Regions from separate parts of the Homo sapiens genome. Here all the other regions are linked to region 5. The links are contacts of gene promoters, found by promoter capture Hi-C in blood cells and fetal thymus (Javierre and others, 2016). All regions are on one chromosome and are shown on one strand. Each heading gives the region's core, a stretch centred on a gene start or on the middle of the fragment in contact. The rest is flanking DNA. Distances are from core to core; before and after follow the strand shown.

Region 1 (3,324 bases), core at 312-2,811, 210 kb before region 5:
TAAAACTGCAATGCCCATATGTATCAAAAGACAAAAATAACTGCTGTCTTGTATCAAAATATTAACGTGTGGCAATCATATAACACATTTTCATGAAAGTTGGAACATAAAGTTACCTTTAAGATCTTGGCCATGTGATCTGCTCCCTGCCATGTCAGATTACATCCTGTGAAGTTGACTGTCTTAAGAGTGATAGAGCTCTTTATACCTTGACAAATAACTAAAATGGAAAAAAAAACCACATACAATAAGATGAAGAGCATATACAACCTAGTCAGTCTTGATTTATTTGCTCTTCTTATATCTTTTCTATTTTATAGTTGTATTCTTAAAATCACTATTTACAATCTACCTAAGCAACTGATTGGTACATTCTAAAATAAGTCAGTAACAAAGAGTTACTCCAGTTTATTGCAATAGTTCAATTCTATTTAGATGCCAAAATTGAATAGACTGAATATTGCAACCTTACTCCAGACCACAGTAAAGTTCTATATACTTTTTGAGACATCTGAAAGAAAAACATAAAAAAAATAAAACTCTTCCTATTTTCATTTCCAAGAGCAGACCTCAATCTGTTATTAACCAACAATTCAGTGTCAACTATAAACCCAGAATTTTATTAGGTGTTATACTAGAGCACCTAATGTACTAGAACAATAGAAGACAGAGGCCTTTTAACTCTCTGCTCCCTCAAATTGAAATGCAGGTTTCCTTACCCCTCCAGACCACTATTTCACACAACGAACACAAGACTTCAGGATCCCAACGAACAGTCACCTTCTGTGACTATTTCCATGATCCCAACCCTTTCCCCCCAAGTCTGTCAGCCTTTTATATGCTCCTATACAGCACTTTGCTTATATTTCCTATTTTGGAACATACCACAGTGCATTAAAATTGATTGTATATATGTTTTAATTATTTAAAGTAATGATGATTTTTTTTTTTTTGAGACGGAGTCTTGCTCTATCGCCCAGGCTAGAGTGCAGTGGTGTGATCTTGGCTCACTGCAACCTCTGCCTCCCAGGTTCACACCATTCTCCTGCCTCAGCCTCCTGAGTGGCTGGGACTATAGGCACCCGCCACCATGCCTGGTGAGTTTTTTTGTATTTTTTTAGTAGAGATGGGGTTTCACCATGTTAGCCAGGACAGTCTCAATCTCCTGACCTCATGATCCGCCCACGTCGGCCTCCCAAATTGCTGGGATCACAGGCGTGAGCCACCACGCCCGGCCTCTTTACATTTTGCTATTTCCTTCCCATAAATATTTCTTGAAGAAAAACTCTAAAAGATGAACAAACACAAAAAACAGAGAATACCAGATGGTATATATTTGTGTGGTCTGTGGTTTAACACAAACTTAAGTAAAGTTAGTTCAGATTACATTCAGCATGCCAAGCTTTCATGGTAGACTTGAGACTGGACCAAGGTTTGAACAAGCATATGAGGCAGTAGTAAGAAAAAAGGTACAGACAGGAATTAACATGGCATGTAGGGAAACATGAAACCAGCCTGATAGGACAAGAGTTAAATGAGATTTAAACTCACTTTCTAAACCTCCATCTCCAATTGGACAATTTGCAAGAGACAGGTGCACCAAAGAAGCCGATTTATTCAATCCCTTTAATGAGGGGGAAAAGTTAAAAATGTTATTGAGGTTTTTTTTCCTCTAAAAGCAACTATCAAATGTCTACAAGCCAAATGAGACAAAGCTTACCTTTGCTAGAATAGTTAAATCCCTCTCTCTCAGAATTAGTCCATTTAGCTCCAGGTTCTTTAGCACACTTGATATACTTAAACAGCCTTTAAGAGCTTTACACAACTGGAAGGTCACATCTTTGTATCTTATCGCAGGAACACGACTTCTGCAAAATTTATTCATGTCAGAACCTAAAACAAAGATAAAAGAAAGTTAGTGACTTCAATCATACAATGTATCATTCAAAAACATCTGCTCTGTGCTAAGACATAGAAATGAGCCATGTCCTTTAAAGTCCTCTTAAGCACAGACACATGTAAACTCAAGCCACATGGGATATACCAAACTATGTACATAGAGGTTCTTATGGAAGCAAAGAAGTTGCACTGAAAGGATGGCTTCAAGATAATCCTGAAGCTGAATCTAGAAAGATGAGAATGACAACATGGGGTGAGAGTGGGTGATGCATTAACCAGAGGGAGCAGCGAGAGCAAAGGCATCTAAGCCTGACACCTGCCGGGCACTGGAAAACTGCAGGTGGATCCGACTAAAGCCCAGAGCCGTAGCCGGAAGAGTCAGAAATTTACAAAGAGGCAGGGAGAAGCAAGCCTAGGAGAGTTCACTTTTACCTCACAGGTGATGAGGATCAGGGCTACCACTGACACATTAAGGATACCCCTAGCAGGTTAGAAAAATGTGCCTCACTGTTGGAGTATCAAAGAGATAAAGGAAATGAGAAAAAGCTCCCCTTCCTCAAGACCAACTAACCCCAGGAGGCTTAACAGAACACAGCTGAGATTTCAGTGCCTCTGTGCAGAACACAAGCAACCAATACACACTGGTCCTGCGTGGGCATGCCACTTTAAGCATGTCTTTTCCTTTTTGAAAGATCACTTGAACCAAAGTAGGCAGATGAACTGAGAAAAACCAAGCTCAACGGCAGCAAAACTAGCTAGGAGCGTCTGCAATAGTCCAGGCAAAATGTAATTAAGGATGGACAAGCAATATGTAGGAGGTTAAAATCTACAACCTAGACCCACTAGATGCAAGAGATAAAGAAGGTTCAGTGAAGAATATCTGACGAGAATGGTCTGTAATACATTTTTCTTACATTCAGTGCAAAATATTAGGCAAGATCTAGTAGGCTAGCCTTGACTCTGAGGTCCCTCCCATCTTTAATTTATTTTGGTTCCTGGTTTTTTTATTTTTTGTAGGGGGAGGGTCATGGACAGGGTCTTGCTCTGTCACCCAGGCTGGAGTACAGTGGCAAAATCATGGCTCACTGCAGCCTCAACCTCCCGGGCTCAAGAGATCCACCAAGCCCAGCTAATATTTTTTACTTTTTGTAGAGACAGGAGTCTCACTATGTTGCCCAGGCCAGTCACAAACTCCTGGCCTCCCAAAGTGTTAGGATTACCAGTGTGAGCCACCGCACCTGGCCTGGTTCCTGATATTATTTTGGTTAACTAAAGTCCATTCAGAGGTACAGAACAGTTCCTGCACCTGAATGAGATGTAGAGAATAATCTGACTTATTTTCAGAAGCAGATGTGTTGAACTGTCCTTGCAGAAGAGATGGTGCTAACCCCAGAGCCTAGAAAAGGGCCGGGCACACGACAAGTG
Region 2 (3,304 bases), core at 229-2,728, 160 kb before region 5:
CTTTTATCGGTAGTGTGAAAACAGACTAATACACCTCCATTGGGAATTCTGTAGGGAAGAGTGATGAATATCAAGCTATGACATGGGTATTCCTTGTTCCTGGGCTATAGTACCATCATAATATCATGAATACTTTGCCTCCAGCCATAGCTCCTCCTCTATCCATGTAGCATCAACCTTTCTCTCTATGCAGAGTCTTTCCTACGAGTGGGAAAACATGCTCGTATTTCCTCCAACTGTTTAGCAAATAAAAAAAAATTAAAAACACAATAAAAAGCCCCTTTTCTTGATCTCACATCCTTATTCTCTTCTTCATATAATAGTGAAGCTTTTTAAAGTTAGTTGAGAAATGGCAAATTTAACACAGCCAACAAGTGTTCCATTAATATGTGGTAGTTGATGAGGTGAGCCCATGCTCAGACACAGACCAGATATGTGGCCACAAGCAAAGCATAGGTTATTGCTTTCATGCAGCCCACCCTTAGTAAATATTGCTAAGGATGAATAAAAAAATTAAGCATTGAATCACCTTTCAAAGCTCTTGCTAAAATCTGGACATGAAAACATTAAGAAAGTAAGGAAAATTCAAAAGTTCAGGATCTTCTGGGTTGGGAACAGATACTTCCAACTCTGGAAGCCAGATTCTCACCTTCCCTGGTTCCCTTACAACTAGAACACAAACATTGACCTACAGCTCAGCAATCAAGTGCTCGGAGTCAGACTTTGACTCAGTAACTAGCAACACAAAGAGTCAGGAAATCAGCGACTGTGCATAGTCAATTATCGGGATTGATCCTGGGAGAGCCCCCTCCACCTTCCAGAGGCAGTAGTGATGTTTTCTTTAGCCAGGTCAAAGGTCCAGAAGGGGTGATGAGACTACCACTGGCTAAGTTTCTTATCCAGTAGTGGGGGCAGTGTGGACTATGTGGGATCACTTCTGTGGACTTTGGATGTTTCTTGCTACGTAGCCTCTAGATCTGCTTCTTCAGCTTTCCTGGATATGAAGAAAGCTTCCAAATATCATTTAATACATTAGTTTCTGACTCAATTGCCCAAAATGTGTTTCTATTGTTTGCCACTAAGAACTCTAATTGGTACCCCGCTGAGGCTCCTTAGCCAAGTGGCAACCAAATGTGGTATAAATATGACACTGTCAGGCCCTGTTGCAAAAAGGGCAGTCAAGCTAATTGTTGAATAGCAACACCATATTTGATTAATTCCATTTCATCCCTGATTTTTCCTTCTCTGTTCACTTCTTCCCTATTGTGGTTGCTGTATCTGTTAGAATAAGAGTGGTATCACTCTTTTTTTTTTTTTGGATCTTAGGGTGAAATTTCTTCTTGTCCCTTAAGCTATACCTAAGCCTTGGGCACACAGTAATAGATGAATAAAAAGAAAAGAAAAAAAGGCAAAAGTAATAGGAAAATAAAGGAGAAATGATAAGAAATATGGATGTAAACTGCTCAGATTTCAATATTCTATGTCAGGAGTCTACAAGCATTTATTGTAAAGGATTAGTAAAGGGTTGCTATAAATATTTTTGGCTTTGTGGGCCATAGGTTTTTGTCACAATGATTCAACTCTACCATTGTAACATACAAGCAGCCATAGATAACACACAAACAGATAGGTACTGTTGTAAATAAAACTTTATTCACAAAAGCAAGTGGTAAGCTAGATTTGGCCCCCTGATCATTGTTTGTTGACCCTTGCTCAATGACATGGTAGGTGCTAGGTTTTCTTTTCTGTTTATATTTAGGGTGAATACTCTTATATTCATTCATTCATTCATTCATTCATTCATTCATTCATTCTGGAATCACTTCTTGAACACCTATTTTGTCCCACTGTCCAAGATTTCTATAACTGAAGGAGCTCACACTCTGGGATGGATCAGGTGGCAGTAGTGCCATGTCGGTGCCCTGTCCATGTTCCCTCAAGCTTAACTCTTCAGTGCATGCAGACCCAACTTCCTACTGCCAGCATCTTCATTTCTTTGCCTGGGAAATTTCTCTGGCCATGATTGTATACAGTTGTATTCCTCAAAATATTCCAGTGTACTTCTCTTGAAGGTGGATGGGCTCTGTGACTATTTTGAGCAACGGCATATACAACAGTGAGTCCATGTATTATTTGGTCCCAGGCTGGAAAGCGTTAGCAGCCCATATTTCCCATTTTGGGGAACATTTGCTCTTAGAGTCTAGCCACCATATTGTAAAAAGCCCAAGCAGTAGCATCGAAAGACCCATGTGGAAAGGACTGAGTATCAACTTGCTAGCTTTGAGAATAAACCATTTGGGAAGTGGATCCTCAAGCCCTAGTCAAACCATACCAGTTAAAGCTGTGTATGAATAACAAGAGTAAATTATCCCCACTGAGCCCAACCCAACCTGCAGATTCATGAGCAACATGTATGCATAAAATGTAGTTGCTTTAAGCCTGTAAATTTTGAAAGGGTTTTAATGCAGTAAAACCCAGGACACTCACCCTAGCCTACAAGTAGTTATTATTATCAGCCTTTAACAGATGAAGGATAGGAAGTTTAGAGAAAATAAGCACACCTTGTTCCAAGTTCTTCACAACTAGTAAATTACAGATTAATTTACTAGTTAATTATTTCAAACTCAGGTCTTTCCGACCCCAAAGCTCAGACTCTTTACCTTGTTGCCTGTCTAAGCCAGAAACTAAACTGAAAAGAAATTAAATAAGATCAAATGAAAGAAAAGGAGGTAATATGAGTCAAGTCAAGGTGATGATAGGTGCTTGCCAAGCCAAAGCTGTCTGGTGCCACTTTTTTGGGAAATGTTCCAGAATGTTGCTATCCCCATACTTCAGTCCTGCCTGTGTTAACTCTATGCCCCCATTTTTAAACTGCTGTCCTAACACTTATCACATACTTTATTGTCCATCTCCATACTTGGGTAAAGCTCTTCTAGATATCTTACATCTATCACTATTCCTGGCCTCATTGCAGATATTCAATAAATATTTTGGGGATGCATTAATGAATTCTGGAATAGATTGTGGGGCACAAAGAACCTTATCAATTAGACTAGAGACACAACTATTAGACTTGTGCTGTCTATAACCTGGAGAACAATGCAAAGATGTTTAAAGAGTTCACAAGCTCTCCCACTCCATTCGTCCCCACCCATACCTGCCTCCCCAGGGTAATCCATGTTAATAATCTGGTTGCATCTCTCCACACCTTTCTTCACAGTCATATAAATTTATACAAACACACTGTATGATTTGGAGGGTTGTTTATTATTCGAATGTTGCGTTACTTTCTATTTCTCTGAAA
Region 3 (3,381 bases), core at 445-2,944, 140 kb after region 5:
ACTTCAGTGCATTTTATATTTGAATATTATGTTAATGAATTAGAAAGTTAAGCCCTGAAACAAGGATACATAAAGTAAGAAACAGATTATGGAAATTTAAAACACTCTCTTGCTATACCATATCTTTTGCATTTCTTCCTTCTCCTACTCCTCCAGGGAGACAGAGTCTCACTAGCTTGCCCATGTTGGTTTAGAACTCCTGGCCTCAAGTGATCCTCCTACTGGGATTGTAGGCATGAGCAACTAAACGTGCCCCACCTATACCATGACTTTTGAGTAAGATACTACCATCTGACGAGTCTCTGGGCAAATGATTGAAAACTAAGTATCCTGATCATGTCTCCTCAATGCATTTTTGATGGAATTTTTGTTACTAGAGCTATGCTGTTGTTTTTTTAGACAGAGTTTCACTCTTGTTGCCCAGCCTGGAGTGCAATGGTGTGATCTCGGCTCACCGCAACCTCCGCCTCCTGGGTTCAAGCGATTCTCCTGCCTCAGCCTCCCAAGTAGCTGGGATTACAGGCATGCGCCACCACGCCCGGCTAATTTTGTATTTTTAGTAGAGACGGGGTTTCTCCATGTTGGTCAGGCTGATCTCGAACTTCCAACCACAGGTGATCCTCCCACCTCGGCCTCCCAAAGTGCTAGGATTACAGGCATGAGCCACTGTGCCCAGCCTTGCAATGCAGTTTTATGACACGTTTCTAATTCTCATATTTCTATGCCCCCTCTATTTTCAGGATGAAATAAGAACATTTAGAAAATGAATGCTACTAAAGCTTTCTTAGGCATAGCTTAAGTAATGCCAGATGGCTTCGATAAATTATTATGAAGTCTTTCAGTCAAACTCTCAAGTTTTTTAGGGGTCTGGAAGAAGTACTGTGGAGGATTCTAGGAGTATGGTATGCCAACCCAAATAACCAATACAAAGATATGTGCGAATCGGCAATTACATTGGGAACAGAATTAAGATACATTATAACTAAGATAAAGTATTTCAAAATTTAAACATTTAAAATAATTTTTAATAAAGAATAAAGTAGAAAACTTACAAACCCATGTCTATTTGAAGGATTAGCTATTATGTGTTTTGTAAGCGAGTAGATAAAAGGAGTAACTAACTTGTAGTTTTACTTGTTTTTAGTATGCATATTATAGAATGTTTGCATGTAAAATTAATACAATTTGACTTTGACAAACATTTCGGATAACTGGAAAGATGGAAGCAAAAGCTTCATTTGGGATGAAATGTCAGTTTATTAAAATTTCTAGGCCATGATAATTTAAGAGTTTGGGAAAAAACCAAAAGAACAGGTATAAAGATAGTTGTGCATTTGGTTAGAAATAAGCGGTGACGTATTTTGACAAAGAGAAGCATACTAATTGAATACAGTGGGCAGGACTCATTAGAGACTGTGATAATAAAGGGAAGAGAAAAAACAAGAAACATTTCTGCCTGGTATCAAGAAGGACTTAACACAGCAAATTGGAAATGAACTTGCAGCATCACTAGGGATCTGGAAGGATCAACATGTGTCCAATAAGCATTGGACAGTTGATCCTTCTTTGAGAATATTCTGAAAACCCTGCAATTTACAGACAAAAGCAAGATGCTAGAAACAGATCAGAAATGAATAAACATCATAATGAGACATTAAACAGGATTAAGGATTTTTTTTTTTTTTTTTTTTTTTTTTTTTTTTTTTTTTGAGACAGGGTCTGGCTTTGTCGCCCAGGCTGGAATGCAGTGGCAGGATCTTGGCTCACTGCACCCTACGCCTCCCAGGCTCACGCAGTCCTCCCACCTCAACCTCCTGATGAGTAGCTGGGACTACAGGCACGCACCACCACACCCGGCTAATTTTTTTTTTAAAAGATGGGATTTTGCCATGTTGCTTAGGCTGGTCTAATTCCTGAGCTCAAGCAATCTTCCTGCCTTGGCCTCCCAAAGTGCTGGGATTACAGGTGTGAGCCAACATGCCCAGCCTCAGGATTAAGGAATTTTTTTGAAATGTTTAATTCAGTAGGTATGGCATGACTAAGTAAAGTGAAGGAATCAAAAGTTGTTTTGAGGTGTATTTAAAAGATGATATATGGTGCTTCAAAGGAAACTGGGCATTCAAGTTGTAGAATGACAAAGAGGAGTTCAAGCTTATGGGAAGAATGAAAAATTTTTTGATTTTCTAATTTGATTCTAAATGTCATGCTGAAAATGGAATCTCTTCCGTGTCCTCTCCCCTACTCTGAGGGAGCAAATGGCTTTAGTGCTTTGATGCGTCAGACACTCAAGGGACTTTGCTAGACTAATTGTTAGTGAATAATCCAGAGGCTCCCATTCTGCTGCTCTGATTTACAGGAATGATTATTTTCCTCATCTTTCTCATAAACCTCACTTTTTTTCCAAAATCTGACACTCTTCTCAGCCAGCGTTCCACGTGAAGAATAAACAGACTCAGTCTGGATTTTTCAAGATTCAGAGTACTTTTTTTAAGGCAAGCAGAACTCCAACCTTAGGATAACTCAAAATAAGGTTTAAATGGTAAAAGTTCATCTTGTCCTGAGGCATTAGGGGATTGCGACAATGAGTAGACATTTTAAATATTTTCACTCTTATAGCAAGCCACTTTTCTCCTTGCTGCATTTACCCCACTCTGCTCAGGAAAGTTGTTTAGTGAGCTATTACTGCTATACTTTCCTATTTAGATGTTTTCTCTGGGAACACTAATTTTGAAGGTCAAGAATTCCAGAAGTCATTCAAGAATTAGTATTCTGAAATCTGTGTAGTAGCAGGAGGAATTATTGCCAGTGATCTAGAATGAGGATTCTCAAATGTTTTAATCTTAGCACCTCTTTATATACTTAAAAAGTTATCGTGGATTCCAATAATGAGCTTTTATTTATATTTATTTTATTTTAATGTCTATTGATATTTATGTTATTGGAAATTAAAATTGGGACCCCATCAAAACAAGTGTGTGCAAACACCCATTCCATTAGCCATCAGAAAGATGTCATCATTGCATGTCTTGAAACTGCATTGTGCAGTCATGAGAGAATGTGAGCAGTAAAGGCACAAAATGTCTTAGTGTTAGTGTGAAAGTAATTAGGCATCCCGTACCCCCTTCAAGGGTCTCAGCAGTCTCCAGGAGCATCCCGATTACACTTTGAGAACTACTGATCTAGAATAATTGCTAAAAGAATTATTCATGTGCCAGTACTTGGCTCATAATGTCTTCAGTAAATATTTATTGAAAGGGTGTGGACAAAATGATTAAGAGTGCAACAGAAAGAAGCCTTGGGGAATAATAGTGTGTGTGTATATGTATATTAAAAACATGTTATATGTAGCATGTGATATGTTATATATTAATATAACATCTA
Region 4 (3,492 bases), core at 663-3,162, 160 kb after region 5:
AAACAGATAAAGATATTTCATTGTGCTAGTAAACATCTGTTTGCCACCATTATTACAGTTCTGTTTCTATTCTTCAGCTAGCTTCAGCTAAGTGGGTTGTTTGAATGTTGTAACATCTTCAAGATTAGACCCCAGGGGATGAATACAAAATCTTATTGTATTATACTTTCCAATACATTCTCTTTCCAGCGAAACAAATTCGCTTGCTAATCCTTCCCTCTAGTGTCTTTGTGGGAACATTCTCATGACCTAGAATATCCTCTTATTTACCTCCAAGCCAGATCTTCCTTCTGTCAGACTCCACCTTGGAGTTTCTGTTTTTCCTTTCAAATTGGTCCTTACCGAGGGAGAGTGCACTATCAGTTTGTAAAACCTTCAGGTGTATTGTGTTGGTTTCTATGTGTACTTAAGCCCCTTTCATGTGTCTGTGTATTGTATCCCTAAAGAGGCTGGTATGCTATTAAAAATACAGAAACAGGAGTCAGAAACCCTGAGAGTCTTGGTGTGTGAACTTGGACTTTGTCTTTGTTTCTCTGGGCTTCAGCGTTTACATCTGTGAAATGGAAGATAATCTCTTCCATGCCAGTCACACACATTCATGGTCAAGAACTATGTGCTGAGATGTGTTAAAATCTGCTTTGTATTCTACACCCTGTTATGAAATATATGTTTGTATTATGGGTTTCTTGGAGGCAGGAACAGTTTTTTATACAGTAGAGCTGTATATTACAAATTTATATGTATATTAATTATAATTTAGCACATGGTAAATTCAGTTTACACATTGTGTTCCCTCTGAAGCTAAACCTTGGCTTCCATTGCCCCAGGGAAGGGAAAGCCACAGTTGAGATGCTAACAGAAACAAAAGAAATGATTATTTTTTTTGCTTCTAAGCTTCCAAGAACTCAGATCCTAGTAGTTTAATGGTAATTTGACAGTGATGTTAGGAATTTTCACATAATGGTAATTTGACCATATGTAATTTTTAAGTTCTGCTTTACAACCAAACAACAATACATTTGCACTGCATATTGCATAGTTGCAATTACTTAGCTCATTGCTGAGTGGATGTTCAAGAAATATTGAATAGCATATAATAAAATATGGTAGGAAGGTATAAGAATTCAACAAACAAATGATAGCATTTGCCATTCAGGAAATTTTGGATGCACATGCTACCTATTATTTGATTTGGAAGAACTGCTAAAACATGTATCTTATTAGCCCTGGAATAAGAGTTTGAATTCCATATACATGAGATAATAATTTAGGGCATAGCAATGTTTTGTCCAAAGTTTCAGTCTCTACCCTTATGCCCTTTCATGTGGTCATTTATGAAACCATACCTCTCCCTCACCCCATGAAAATCCAAGTGCTACACAATCAAAAGAATATTAAGTTGTCATATAGGAAGATTTTTCTGTTATGCCACTTGTCCACTTAGGTAGTAAAATTCTGCAATTCTATTATAGATCAGAAAAAAGTGATGTTTTTATAGTACACTTTGAGCAACTGACACATCCTTATTGCTCCATCTGGGAGCTGCTGTTGGAACAAAGCATGGTGAGGATATGGGGAGGAAGCCACCAAGAGGCAGCATTTAAATACCTGGCCTTTGAAGGGATTAAAAGGGATATTAAAAAGGATATTAAAAGGGATCAGAAAAGCCCACCACTGTTGAGGATCTCTCCGAGATTTCATAACAAATCATCCCACCTTTCTACCCCTAAAAAACAAAACACAAACCATGTCTGTGATTTAGAGAAGCAAGGAGTAATTTAAACCAGTCTGGGTGTTTTGAAAATCACCTTTCTCAGCTCTGTATTTAATCTGTCTCACCTGAGTAGACTCCTGGGATGGCTACTCTTATCCCTGGATCCTAAGTAATGAGTAGTAATTGTGATTTGGAAAGAGTTCAGTGCTGAGTAAAGGACTATTTATCCTCTGGAGAATCCAGAGGACTATACCTTAAGAAAATAGTCCTATAGACTACATCTTAAGAAAATTGTCAACTAGATTTTAGTTTCCTTAGCTATCATGTGTAATTGTAATATGGATTATGTTAGAGGCAGTCATAACTAACCTTTAAAAATGTTAAATTAACTTTATTTGAAATATAATTTGCATTGGATAAAATGTTGCCTTTTCCAGTGTACACTGTGAGGTGTTATGACAAATGTATGAACCATGCACCCACCACTACCATTAGCATGTAGAACATTTCTATAACCCTAAAAAGTTCACATGTTCATTACAGTTAGTCTCCCATCCCTAGACAACTAATTGCTTTCTGTGATGACAGATTCATTTTGCCTGATGTCAAATTCCATAGGAATGGAATCTCATAGTATCTATCATTTGCGTTTGGCTTCTTATATTCAACATAGTGTTTTTGAGGTTTTTTTTTTAATGTGCTTGTACCAGTTTATTTTCCTTTTTTATTGGTTAGTAGTATTTTATTTGGAATGTACCACAGTTTATCCATTCACCTCTTGATGGACATTTGAGTTGTTTGTCATTTTTGGCAAAACAAGTATTTATCTCAAGAAGAATGTGACTGGAGTGAGACCTAGCCATTGGTGGGTAAAAAACTAGCACCAAAGGCGGGGCGCGGTGGCTCAAGCCTGTAATCCCAGCACTTTGGGAGGCAAGGCGGGCGGATCACGAGACCAGGAGATCGAGACCATCCTGGCTAACACGGTAAAACCCCATCTCTACTAAAAATACAAAAAATTAGCCAGGGCGCCTTGGCAGGCGCCTGTAGTCCCAGCTACAGGCTGAGGCAGGAGAATGACGTGAATCCGTGAGGCAGAGCTTGCAGTGAGCTGAGATCGCGCCACTGCACTCCAGCCTGGGTGACAGAGCAAAACTCCGTCTAAAAAAAAAAAAAAAAAAAAAAAAACTAGCACCAAAAAAAGGCATCAAGCTTTCTTGAGGTTTCAAACTGCTTCCTGTAACCTCATTTATATGTAACAAATATCAATATCGCATAACTAAATTATCCCCAAAAGAAATTACTCAAAGATTCTCTATTAGCTGATAAAGCTCCCATAGCCTTCTCAATGTAGAAGATCACTTTTTGTCTCAGTGTTGAAAACTGTTAGATCAGCATACTCGCTTATTACCTTATTTAAAAGAACCAGGTGATAAATGGAAGCAATTATTTTTCCTATTATTCTAGCTATATTTCTGATTGCAGGTGATTCAAAGACCTCAAAGAGAAAGTCCCTATTATGAAGGCATTATCTAGAAGAGAATCTATGTCTATACACATGTAGATATAAACATTATGAATTTTTCACATACTCATCCATTTACTTATCAAATTAAAAATTCTAAATATTGTCAGAGTTCAGTGTAGCTGCATGGCTAGAAAGGCTAGTAGCAAAGGGGACCTTGTGTCAGGCTTTTGAGGACTGGGGAGTGGGGAAGGCATTCCCAGAAGGAGATGGGTTTGACTATAGGCAGGGCAATGAGGACTGCTTAGAGGAG
Region 5 (3,545 bases), core at 509-3,008:
TGTAGGCATTCACATAAAAGGGTTGAGGTTTGCCCTCTCTGCTCTCCAGGGCAAGGTGAAATTTAATTATTTTCTAGGTTTTAAACAGAGAACCTAAAATATATATTTTATATCTTGACTTGCTTGATTTAAATCGTGGTTTAGAGTGTGTGTATGTGTGTGAAACGGTGGAGTAATGGCAAATGAAAGAAAGAAGGAAGTTACACACCTGTTGTCTAAGAACCCTATATGAGTTCTTGATCTGTAGCAAAAGCAGAGTCATGACCGTACCTTACACTCTGGATCAGCAGGTTGCACCAGGGACACTTCAGAGAACACATGAAACGTGAAAAAGCGGTTCTCTTCATAAAAGACAATTTTCTTTGAAGACCTCAGGTTCCTTTAAGGCAGGAAGCAATATGAGTTTCATCTCCTGGGCCTGATTAAACAAGATTATTTTCGTGTGCTATTTATCAGTAGACGATCACAATGAAATGTGCATACGACAGTTTACTGCCTCAATCACATATTGCAAATCAAAAAAACTAGAATGCCGTTTTGCTGGGGCCTCCTTAGTTTCTCTTCTATTTCATTCTTTCCTTTCCTTTTATTCCACATTATTTTACATTTTCCCATAAGTCATCCATAATTCAATCTCAGTCTAGAAGAGTAAATTCGATTACTCGGCGGCTAAACATCGTGTGCCTTCTCAGAAACAAGAGAACTTGTAAAACAAAAACAAAAACAACTTAAAAAAACAAAAACAACCAACAACCACCAAAAAAACAAAGGCATGAAAAGTTGGAACCTATCGGGAGGCTCTTGGAAACTTGGGCAGCTTCCTTTCTCTGTTCAGGATTTAGATTTCTATCTCACGTTACTTTGCGAACAGCTTCGCCTGTGAATCTCCCCCTACACCTCTGGGCACCGGTGCCAATTCCTTCCCTTCCCTTCCCCAGTAGCCCCACACAGTATAGAGGAGCTTATTTTCTAAGACTGCACCGGTGTCAGAGGTGACGTGAGAGTTTCTAACCGAATGGCGTTTTAGAAATAGGAACGGGAAACACAGAAACGGCTGAGGAGCGACCCCGTGGAGCAGACAGGCACAGCCCGGGAGCGGCGGACGCCAGCGCCGGCGCCGCAGGGAGCGCGTGCGGGGCTCCGCGGGGCCGCCTCCCGCGACTTCAGCAGGGGCCGCGGCCGCGCTCCCGGGCCGGTGGGCTGAGGCAGGCAGAGGCCGCCATATTCCTGTCTCACCACGCCCGGCCGGACGGCAGCCGCAGGTCGGCTGCGGCCCTGGCACGCAACGGCGGCCGCCGGCTCGGGCTGCGCGTCGGCGGCCGGGTCTGGCCCCGACTTCGGCCGGGGGCGGCCGTGACTGCTGCGCCCGCGGACTCTGCCGAGGGTGCGGGAGCAGTAGGCGTCCGCAGAGCCCGCGGGGGCCGGCCCAGCCCGGGAGCCGCGCGGGCGAGGCGAGAGCCGCACTGGGAGGCGCGCCGCGGCGGCCGCGAGCCCAGGAAAGCCTTCCAGGAGGGGCCGGGCGGCACCGCCTCCCGGCTCCCTCCTCCCGCGCCCATCCCCTCCGCCTCTTCCTCCTCCTCCTTTCGCCGCCGCCTCCTCCCTCCCGGATCTGTGCTCCAGTTCAGAGAAAGAAGAAAATGTGTGTGTGTGGCGAGGGGGAGGGCTCGCACTGAGCAGCCGCTCCGCGCCTGGCAATCGGGGCAGGGGGTGGGCGTCTGGCGGGGGCGGGGGCGGAGGCGGAGGCGGAGGAGCGCGCGGTTGCCGGGCGGGACGGGAACCGGGTCTGCGCGCGAGCCGGGCGGTGGGCGCGGACAGGGCCGAGGGCGCCCGGGAGCCGTGTCAGGCGGCGGCGAGGAGCGGGCGCGCCGGGCGCGGGGAGCCGTCGGCGGCCGCTCGCTGCGGGGACACCCCGGTGAATGAGCTCTCGCCGCCAGGCGCACGGCGTAGGGGAGCCTCGCAGGCGGCGGCGGCGGCGGCGGCTCGGGGGGCGAGGCGGGCCGCCTGTTCCCGGGGAAGGAGGCGCGGGCGTCTGAGCGAGGCCGGGCGCGGCGGCCTTCTCTCACGCGCCCCCCGAGCCAGCGCCCGCCTCCCGCGCCCGCCTCTCTTCTCCCGTCGGCCCAGACTATCCGCTCCCACCGCGCCCCCGGCCCACCTGGTGGCCCCGGCCCTGGCCGCCGCCCCCGCGGCGGTTCCCGGAGCTCGTCCCGGACGCGCGCCCGGGCGGCGGGGGCTCGGCGGCCACCGCTGCCTCGGGGGAGCGAGGGCGGGAGGGTGTGTGTGCGCGCTGTGAGCAGGGGGTGCCGGCGGGGCTGCAGCGGAGGCACTTTGGAAGAATGACTCTGGAGTCCATCATGGCGTGCTGCCTGAGCGAGGAGGCCAAGGAAGCCCGGCGGATCAACGACGAGATCGAGCGGCAGCTCCGCAGGGACAAGCGGGACGCCCGCCGGGAGCTCAAGCTGCTGCTGCTCGGTGAGTACCGTCCGGGGCCCCGCCGGGCCTCTGCGCCCCCAGCCCACCATCCTTGGCCCTGCGGGGCAGCTGCCTTCGGCGCCCCCGCCCCCCGGCGCCCGCGGTTCGCCCCTACCCTCCCGGGCGCGCCCCCGGCCACTGCCTTCACCCGCGCGGGCGCGCGGGCGCGTTACACACAGACACACACACACACACACACACACACACACACAGCGACACACACACGCAGCACAGGGGTCGGGGCTGCCCTGCCCGGTGCCTTGGCTTGTTCCTTTTCGTGTCCCTGAGGGCTGTACCTTATCTGCTGTGCATCTGCTAAATGGCAGATCACTCCGACCAGAGGCGCGGGGGTGGAAAGGTGGGCAGAGGGGTTGAACTTCCAGTGTCGTGGCCGCGGCACCCCATGGGGTGGTGGCGTGGGGAGCCGTGTGTGTGGCCCAGCGGGTGGCGAGCGGAGCCGGGGCACGTTGGGGGATGGCCTGCGGTGGAGTGGCCGGTGTGCATCCATTATCAGTGCCCTATGGGGTCAGGAGGGAATGGGGGAACGGTGGGCAGACTCGCAGCTGGATTCCCGGAGCACTCATGGTGAGGAAGCCAAGTGGTTGGCCCTCCAAGGAAAGGGTCTGTGTACTGGGGGCGAGGCGGGAGGGCAAGCCCAAATGTGTCACACAAGTGCTGTTCTCTAGCCACCAGACCATCGAAAGGAGGGAGCCTAGAAGAGTTGGCCAGTGGATGGTGACAGGCGTTATTCTCGTCTGCACCATTCCTTCTAGATAAAGATGAGGGTAGGGGAGCGTTGTGCTGTGTGGTTGTTGACAGCGACCGGTATCTTTTGTTTAATGAGGCAACCTAGATGTAGGCCTCAGTTCACAATAGTTACTACCGAAAACCAGTGCAGTCTCTCAGTTACTCTCTTGGCAACAAATAGAAACCTTTTGTTTAAAACAGATAGCATTTTAATGTCTTTGGAATCTGGGCGAGAAGGAAAAACGGGAAGCATACAGGAAAAATTTCCCTCTAGTCTTGAAAAAAAAATTCTGCTTCAACACTAAGTTAGCAAGAAAATGCCATTTCTC
Region 6 (3,519 bases), core at 845-3,344, 200 kb after region 5:
AGGTGAGAAGAGCACATGACACTGAGCCAGTGGAGGATTCTTCTGCTGGTTAATGCATTATGAGAAGGAGCTGGCGAGGGCAATTACATACAACTAGTTTAGGTCACATGAGACTCTGATAGTCTTAGAAAACTGAAGGCAGGTATATAGATACATAAAAGTGTTCATGAATACTTATTACTTGCAGCTCATCCATTTTCTTTAAAGATTTTCATTTAAGGGTACAATTTCACAAAATCATGAACAGTATTTCTGTGATCAGATAAGATGTATTCTCTATATAGCAGTGTCCATTATATCACGTGGGCATTTTTACAGGCACAGTAATATTAAGGTCAAGATGTTTAGTGATTCTAGCAACAAAACCAAATATTAATACACAGAGTATGAAACAGATAATTCTGTCACATTGAAAGCGTATGTCATCTGGTCCTCAGAATGCTGTCTAGTAGTTTTCCACTGTATTATATTTAACAGAGGCTTTTTATAAATACAGTCATACCAATTAATAATTTTTCCACTTCTGGTGGGTGGCCATCGTAGATACTAGAACACATTATCAATGATATGAATGATGGTTTTAAATTGCATGGGTGGAAATTGATCCTCCTGATTTTGGTGTGGGATACTACTGAATGCCCAGTGTAGACTGCCTTTTAAACTGCATATGGTCCTAATTTTTAAAATCATGCACTCCATCATTAAAAGTTATTTTGGCTTTTCTTAAAATTCTATGTGATGAAAATTTTTAATCCTTTGTGATATAAAACATTTTAATTCTTTTTTAAAAAATGATTAATTTGTGACACATTAATCCAGTGGTCTGGTAGTAAGTTCTGCTTAAGTCACTACTTACTTTTAATGTCTCATAAATAAAAGAAAACCACATAAGATATGTAGTTATAAATGGAAGGAATGTTACTAGCTGTGCTTACATCATGATTCTTTCTCAATCTTATTCACCAATTATGCAAAGGGTTTTAATTGAAATTTTGCTAGTAAGTGTCCATCTTCACTGATGTCAGCTGTTCTTTCAAACTAACTGAAAGATGTTGCATTATTCATGTTTAACAAATGGGTTAAAAACTCCACTGAAACTCTTTCTTTAAAGGACTTTTTCTCAAGTTTTACAAGTTCACACATTGATTGTGTGTGTGTGTGTGTGTGTGTGTGGTATAACACCTTAACAGTGGTTTTGACAGCAAAATCATACCACAATGGAAACATATCCAAATATCCATTTTCAAAATGCTTTTTTTGCAGCACAAGTTTTCTAGCAGTTGCTTTCACACTCATTGTTGAAATGCTCTTTGGCCTTGAAGGGATAGATGAAATATGTTCATACAAAAATATCTGCCAGATAGGCTGCCACTTCAGCCCCTTGTGATGACAACAACAAAAAAGGTCAGCATATTTGGAAGACTAACATTTTGTAAAAGAAAAACGTGTTTTTAAGTTATCTTTAAGTTATTCAGGTCTTTCAAAACATAAGAAACCGCTTGTGTTTTAACAAAGATACTTAGTAACGACTCCTTAGAACTCCTGGTCACCACACAGGGACATCAGACAAGTCCTGGCGCCATTGTTACTCCATGCATTAAATATGACAAAACTTACTATCTTTGTCTTCCTCAGGTTATATGCATAGGTTTTGATATTTTCTCTCTGTGCCCCATGGATGATGTGTGCCCCATACTTCAGATACCAAGGTCTCTACCAGTGTAGACCACTTGGGGGGGCATTAGAAAACCTTGGCCAGGCCAACCACAGTGGCTCACACCTGTAATCCCAGCACTTTGAGAGACCAAGATAGAAGGATGGCTTGAGCATGGGAATTCACGACCAGCCTGGGAATCTAGGGAGATCTTGTCTCAACAAAAAAATTCAGAAATTAGTCAGCCATGGTGGCGCATGCTTGTAGTCCCAGCTACTTGAAAGGCTAAGATGGGAACATCACCTGAACCCTGGAGATCAAGGCTGTAGTGAGCTATGATCGTGCCCTGTACTCACTTCAGCCTGGCAAAAGAGTAAGACCCTGTCTCAAAAAAAGAAAAAAAAAATTGGTCATGTCTCAGACCAATTAAATCACAATGTTCAATGGTGGGATCTAGACATCAGAGTCTTTTTTTTAAGCTCCCCAGGTGATGCTGATGTTCAGCCCAGTTTGAGAAGCACTGATCAGCACTTTCCAAACTTTAATGTGCACACAGATCACCTGGGGATATTGTTAACCTGGAGATCCCTATACAGTGGATCTGTGGAGAGGCCTAGAGGTCTGCATTTCTTATAAGCTCTAAGGCGATGCAGAAGCTGCTTGTGGGTGGACCACTTTGAGTCCAAGAGCTACATCAGCCCTCCCCTCTGTTCTCTGATTCATTCTCTTGGGCTCTCAAGGCTGCGGGTGGGCCACAAAGCTGCAGCTGTGTCGAGAGGAGCTTCAAGCCGCAGTCATTGCTGCTTCATGTCACAGGGAATTTTATTGTGAACACTAAATAACACTTTTCTCATCTGTAAAAGCAGGATAGTAGTCAGATGTGTCCTTGGCTTTTCCACTTTATTTATTGAAGAAAGCAGGGAACATAGTATGGTTTTGGGCTCCTCATTGCAAGATGAGCTTAACACTACTATGGAGAAGCCAGGAATTATTACTTGGCTGCCTCAAAAAATGTTGAATTATAAGGATGTGAAGAAGAACAATAAAAAAGATTATTGATAGCATTGGTGGGAATTTGTTTTTATTTTCAGATCTGTAAGCATTCGTAGCTTTCATGTAAGAATAAAAACCTTCAAATAAAGTAATACTTAGGACTCTAAGGTGTTTCTTATATGTTGGGTTAGTATTCAGCCCCTACTATTGATAACACCATACCTGTGTTAAAATGTCTGAAAAAGTATAATATTATAGCTGCTTCCCCAAGTTCCATGAATGGCCCCAGCAGCTCTTGTCCCACCCCAGGACATCCTGGCCTTTTTGTGATCCAGCACCTAAAAGGCTGATGTGAGGCATGACGAGGAAAGTCCAGGGCCTTGCTCTGTTCTGTTTGGCTGGTGCCCATGCCATACCACTGGTTAAATATTTTAATTTCACTTTAGCCATGTTTGAATGTGTAATCATAAGGGCAAGGTGTCTCAGCCATTATCTAATCCAATATTCCAGTTATAGAAGTCAACCCTTAACATATAAAGGTTAAGAGACTGGTCCTAGACCATAACAGAGGCTCCCCCAGGCCTTCCAACTACTTTTTCTGTCCTGTACTGGTCATTGTATCATCTTTTCCTCAGTCTTGTTAGATCACATTTCAGGACAAATATATAAGAAGGCAAGACAGCTCAGCCCCATTGTAGAAATATTTATTGATCTAACATGAAAATTGTGCTAGACTGCAAGAAATATTAGTCTCTGACCTAAAGTAATTTACTGCATTGTTGGAAATTCTTTATGTACAAAACATGATCAGTTAAATAGCAGTGACAGGCACGATACAGCTTGGTGCCCAACAATTGTGCTGTGAAGACTGT
Region 7 (3,271 bases), core at 164-2,663, 220 kb after region 5:
GTTATGTAAGGGGTTGTGTGTATAAACCAGAGTTAACTGGACCCACATTTCAGGTCTCCTCCAGGGATGTTTTGGCACCACCTATACATCAGTGCCCAAGCAGCCTGCCTGGCTTGCCTTAATCCCACTGTGCCAGGAGGCCCGAGTGTTACTTACTTTATTCTTCACCGTCTTAGTAGTGAGCACTTTACATTTTCCTTAGCCAGGTAAACCTCTCAACAGAAATAGGACCTGGGCATCATAGAGTCACTCATTTGCTGCTGTGTTCCACATGTTTCTCCAGTGTAATCACTGCAGATGCTCCAGGAACTGGCAAATACGACAGCACTGGCAAAGATGTAGGTCCCATATGTTAAACATCGCTGATTTCCCAGTACTAAAAATCATGTTCACAAATAACTCAGAATAATTCCTTTCTCTGTGTTTGAGATAATTGTTAGCCCTTTTCCTTTCTGACTTTTTTGTGTATATTCCCCTAGTGCATCTTCAGTATGTTATATTGCCTCCTTTTTTTCATATCTTTATATTTTTATATCTTTATATATAATATATCTTTATAAAGATATCTTCATATCTTTATAATTGTTCCTATCTTTATAATTGAAACATACTTCATTGTTATTCTGGACCTAATTTCTTATTCATTATCACCTTACAGAAATATTCATCTTACAGAAATATTTCTGAGCTTAGGACCAACTTCTTTTGGTGCTGCCTGTCTCTAGTGGTAGGTCTTCAGAGTAGATTTAGGGAATACTTAACATCTACATTTCTGGTATTAGGAGAATCTCCCTGCCACACACACCTACTTAAAGGTTGTAGTGTAGTAGCAGTTCTCTCCACAACTCTAGTGGTTGTGAGATTCAGTGCAAGCGACTTAAAAAAATACTGGGAGCAGAGGCCAAGCATGCCTGTCTTCTTTTCTCTCTGATGAACTCCTATTCATCCTTTAAGACCCGACTCAAGAGTCACCCTTTCTGAAAGCCTTGCCCAACACCAGTAACAGTAAGTCACTATGTCTTCTATCTTAACACTGTGTACATATCTCTTTTATTTCCGTCATCACATTTACTACAGTGCCTCTCCCCTCTACCCTCTGTTCCTGACAGCAGTGCTCATGTTTGACTTTCACAAGTGATTGTTTCATGAAATAATAGAAGTGATTGTTTCACGAAATAATAGATGGGTAATTTCTACTATTTTAATGACCATGGTATAAGCACCAGTCTCTCTTTGGCTGTTAAATATTATGAAGCTTTAGAGCCGAAGGCATTCAAGTCTTTTTTCCTGCTGTTGTTGAAGGTCTGGGATATGAAAAGCCTTATCAAAGACAATAATAGCTGCTATTTACTGAATATTTAATATATGTTAGATTCTGTGCTTGGTCATTTACATGTGTTATTTCATTTAATCCTCAAAGTCACCTACAATGGTACATAGTTATTAGCATCCCCGTCTAACATAAGAGGAAACTAGGATTCAGACTGAATAATTTGTTCAAGGCCACATACTTAGTAAGTGAATGGAGGAGGAGTTGAATTCAAATTTGCTTATTCCAGAGCCCAAGCTTTTAACCACTGAAATACAGCCTCACACAGGATGGATGGATGCATGACAGATAGATAGATAGATAGATAGATAGATAGATAGATAGATAGATAGATAGATAGATAGATGATTGACAGTTTTTAGATAAGATAGATGGATAGATAGGTAGATAGATGAATCAGTAGATAAATACCTATGATTAGGTGTTTTATAAATCACTTACCATGAAGAACAAATTATTAATCTTTACCAACATTGTCTACAGACAGTTTCATATTTATAAAGTCAAGAAGGAAAATTATATAAAATTGACTGGAAAACAAACCCAATAGGTTTTTGGTTATCATTATGAAAACTTAGCCATGTTTAGCTAAGCAGCAATTATCCATACTAACATGAAAGATGTTCTAAGTTACAGATAATTCAGGAATGTTATTTCTTTGTTTTAACCTACAGTCTTTATCTCTCAACCCCTCTCCCCCAAAATCCAGACAATCACTTTTTACTGGAACCAGTAAGAAGGACACCATAAAATGATTTGAGCTTCCCTTCTACTTTGATTAGCCAACTTGCCTATCATAGTAAGTAATCAGATGACTCAAAGGACAGGCAGCAATGATAGAACCACAGAGGTAGGAAATTCCAGATAATGGATAAGCAGTTGTGGATACATTTGCAATTGGCCTTAATTTGGTGAATTCTTCCAATTCTATTTAATGAAAGAATAAAAAGCATTCTAAGATCCTAGGGAGTTGTGTAGATTACTTTATTAACTTTTTCGTTATTGATAAAAAGCCTGAAGGCTCTGAAAATGATTAAAGAGCACAAAAAACAGATGGTTGTAGGTTCACTTTTTTTCCCCTAGATTTCACCACCTGCTTTAATATACTGAGAAATCAGGTCAAATGAGTTCACTGCCTACAGTACCAAAAGCTCCCTGACATTAGCCAGAAGACACAAGTCTCAATCACATTGGCGTATAGTGAGAAAAGGCCTCATCTGCAGGCTTTGGCTAGTCTACTGTAGCTGTGTTTGCCTTAAGAGACCAAATAATTTCTAATCTTACTTCACCGAATTCCCCTCCAGGGAGCTGGGTAAATCAGACACCTTCTTGAAATTTCCACATGATCCGGAGCCCGTAAAGAACATGAGTAGATTGGCTTTTTGGCATAAGTCAACATTGGAGTTTGACTTTCTAAACGCATGCTTACATTTTTTGAGTCTGATGATGAACTAGCACCAATATATTATGTGCCATGTTGAATTTAACAAAAGGCATTTCAGAGATAGGGTAACACATCCAGCTAACTTAGGGCCAGTCCTTCTTGAAGAGGAAGTACCTTGCTAAGAAGTTGCTGACTGATGAGTCAAATACTTGTACTCCAGGGTATATTGGTTTGGCCATTGTATCCATCCTCACTTTCCTCTGATAGTTTTTTTTGTTTTGTTTTGTTTTGTTTTGTTTTTTTTAAGTTTAAGCCTACTCCAGGCTTTTGAAGGCAGATAAGACCGTTGTATGGTGAAAATATTAGGTCAAGGTCCAGCTGGAATTCCCTCTGCTACTCACTACCTCGGGGGCATTGACTAAGCGTCACTTTCCTCAGACATAGATTATATGTGATACATAATCCTTAAATTCTCCTCCTAAATTCTGAAGTCCTTTGATTCTGTTGGAGTTGACTCCCTTTATCTGAGAAGTCATTATCCTATGCAGTCAAATGAA

What was found. Contacts are between HindIII fragments. The CHiCAGO score rates a contact against its expected background, and 5 or more counts as called.
Region 1: a fragment that was not itself captured here is called in contact with the fragment with the promoter of GNAQ in region 5 in 8 of 17 cell types (total CD4 T cells, non-activated CD4 T cells, naive CD8 T cells and 5 more); the score reaches 9.1 in total CD4 T cells.
Region 2: a contact is called between a fragment that was not itself captured here and the fragment with the promoter of GNAQ in region 5, in 3 of 17 cell types (monocytes, non-activated CD4 T cells and naive CD4 T cells). The highest score is 6.4, in monocytes.
Region 3: a contact is called between a fragment that was not itself captured here and the fragment with the promoter of GNAQ in region 5, in 14 of 17 cell types (megakaryocytes, erythroblasts, naive CD4 T cells and 11 more). The highest score is 14.9, in megakaryocytes.
Region 4: a contact is called between a fragment that was not itself captured here and the fragment with the promoter of GNAQ in region 5, in 6 of 17 cell types (megakaryocytes, neutrophils, monocytes and 3 more). The highest score is 11.6, in megakaryocytes.
Region 6: a contact is called between a fragment that was not itself captured here and the fragment with the promoter of GNAQ in region 5, in 11 of 17 cell types (fetal thymus, non-activated CD4 T cells, monocytes and 8 more). The highest score is 8.4, in fetal thymus.
Region 7: a fragment that was not itself captured here is called in contact with the fragment with the promoter of GNAQ in region 5 in 11 of 17 cell types (M1 macrophages, non-activated CD4 T cells, erythroblasts and 8 more); the score reaches 7.7 in M1 macrophages.

Annotation. Positions count from the first base shown.
Region 1 is chr9:78,238,592-78,241,915 of GRCh38, reverse strand. It overlaps CEP78 (centrosomal protein 78), which reads right to left. Exons shown (of 17, transcript NM_001330691.3): 2 at 1,721-1,893; 3 at 1,552-1,624; 4 at 117-220. Among named protein-coding and RNA genes, the nearest start is that of CEP78, 4.2 kb to the right of the region's middle. The HindIII fragment of the contact is 313 bases long and covers 1,405-1,717 here.
Region 2 is chr9:78,190,528-78,193,831 of GRCh38, reverse strand. No RefSeq gene overlaps it. Among named protein-coding and RNA genes, the nearest start is that of CEP78, 44 kb to the left of the region's middle. The HindIII fragment of the contact is 931 bases long and covers 1,013-1,943 here.
Region 3 is chr9:77,887,739-77,891,119 of GRCh38, reverse strand. All of the region lies in intron 2 of GNAQ (G protein subunit alpha q), which reads left to right. Among named protein-coding and RNA genes, the nearest start is that of GNAQ, 140 kb to the left of the region's middle. The HindIII fragment of the contact is 919 bases long and covers 1,235-2,153 here.
Region 4 is chr9:77,869,735-77,873,226 of GRCh38, reverse strand. The region is part of intron 2 of GNAQ (G protein subunit alpha q); the gene reads left to right. Among named protein-coding and RNA genes, the nearest start is that of GNAQ, 160 kb to the left of the region's middle. The HindIII fragment of the contact is 2,032 bases long and covers 897-2,928 here.
Region 5 is chr9:78,030,024-78,033,568 of GRCh38, reverse strand. GNAQ (G protein subunit alpha q) reads left to right here and starts at 1,758. Exons shown (of 7, transcript NM_002072.5): 1 at 1,758-2,469. The coding sequence starts at 2,334. RefSeq lists an enhancer at 1,675-2,569. The HindIII fragment of the contact is 11,535 bases long and covers 1-3,545 here.
Region 6 is chr9:77,828,492-77,832,010 of GRCh38, reverse strand. All of the region lies in intron 2 of GNAQ (G protein subunit alpha q), which reads left to right. Among named protein-coding and RNA genes, the nearest start is that of GNA14, 180 kb to the right of the region's middle. The HindIII fragment of the contact is 7,148 bases long and covers 1-3,519 here.
Region 7 is chr9:77,808,613-77,811,883 of GRCh38, reverse strand. All of the region lies in intron 3 of GNAQ (G protein subunit alpha q), which reads left to right. Among named protein-coding and RNA genes, the nearest start is that of GNA14, 160 kb to the right of the region's middle. The HindIII fragment of the contact is 312 bases long and covers 1,258-1,569 here.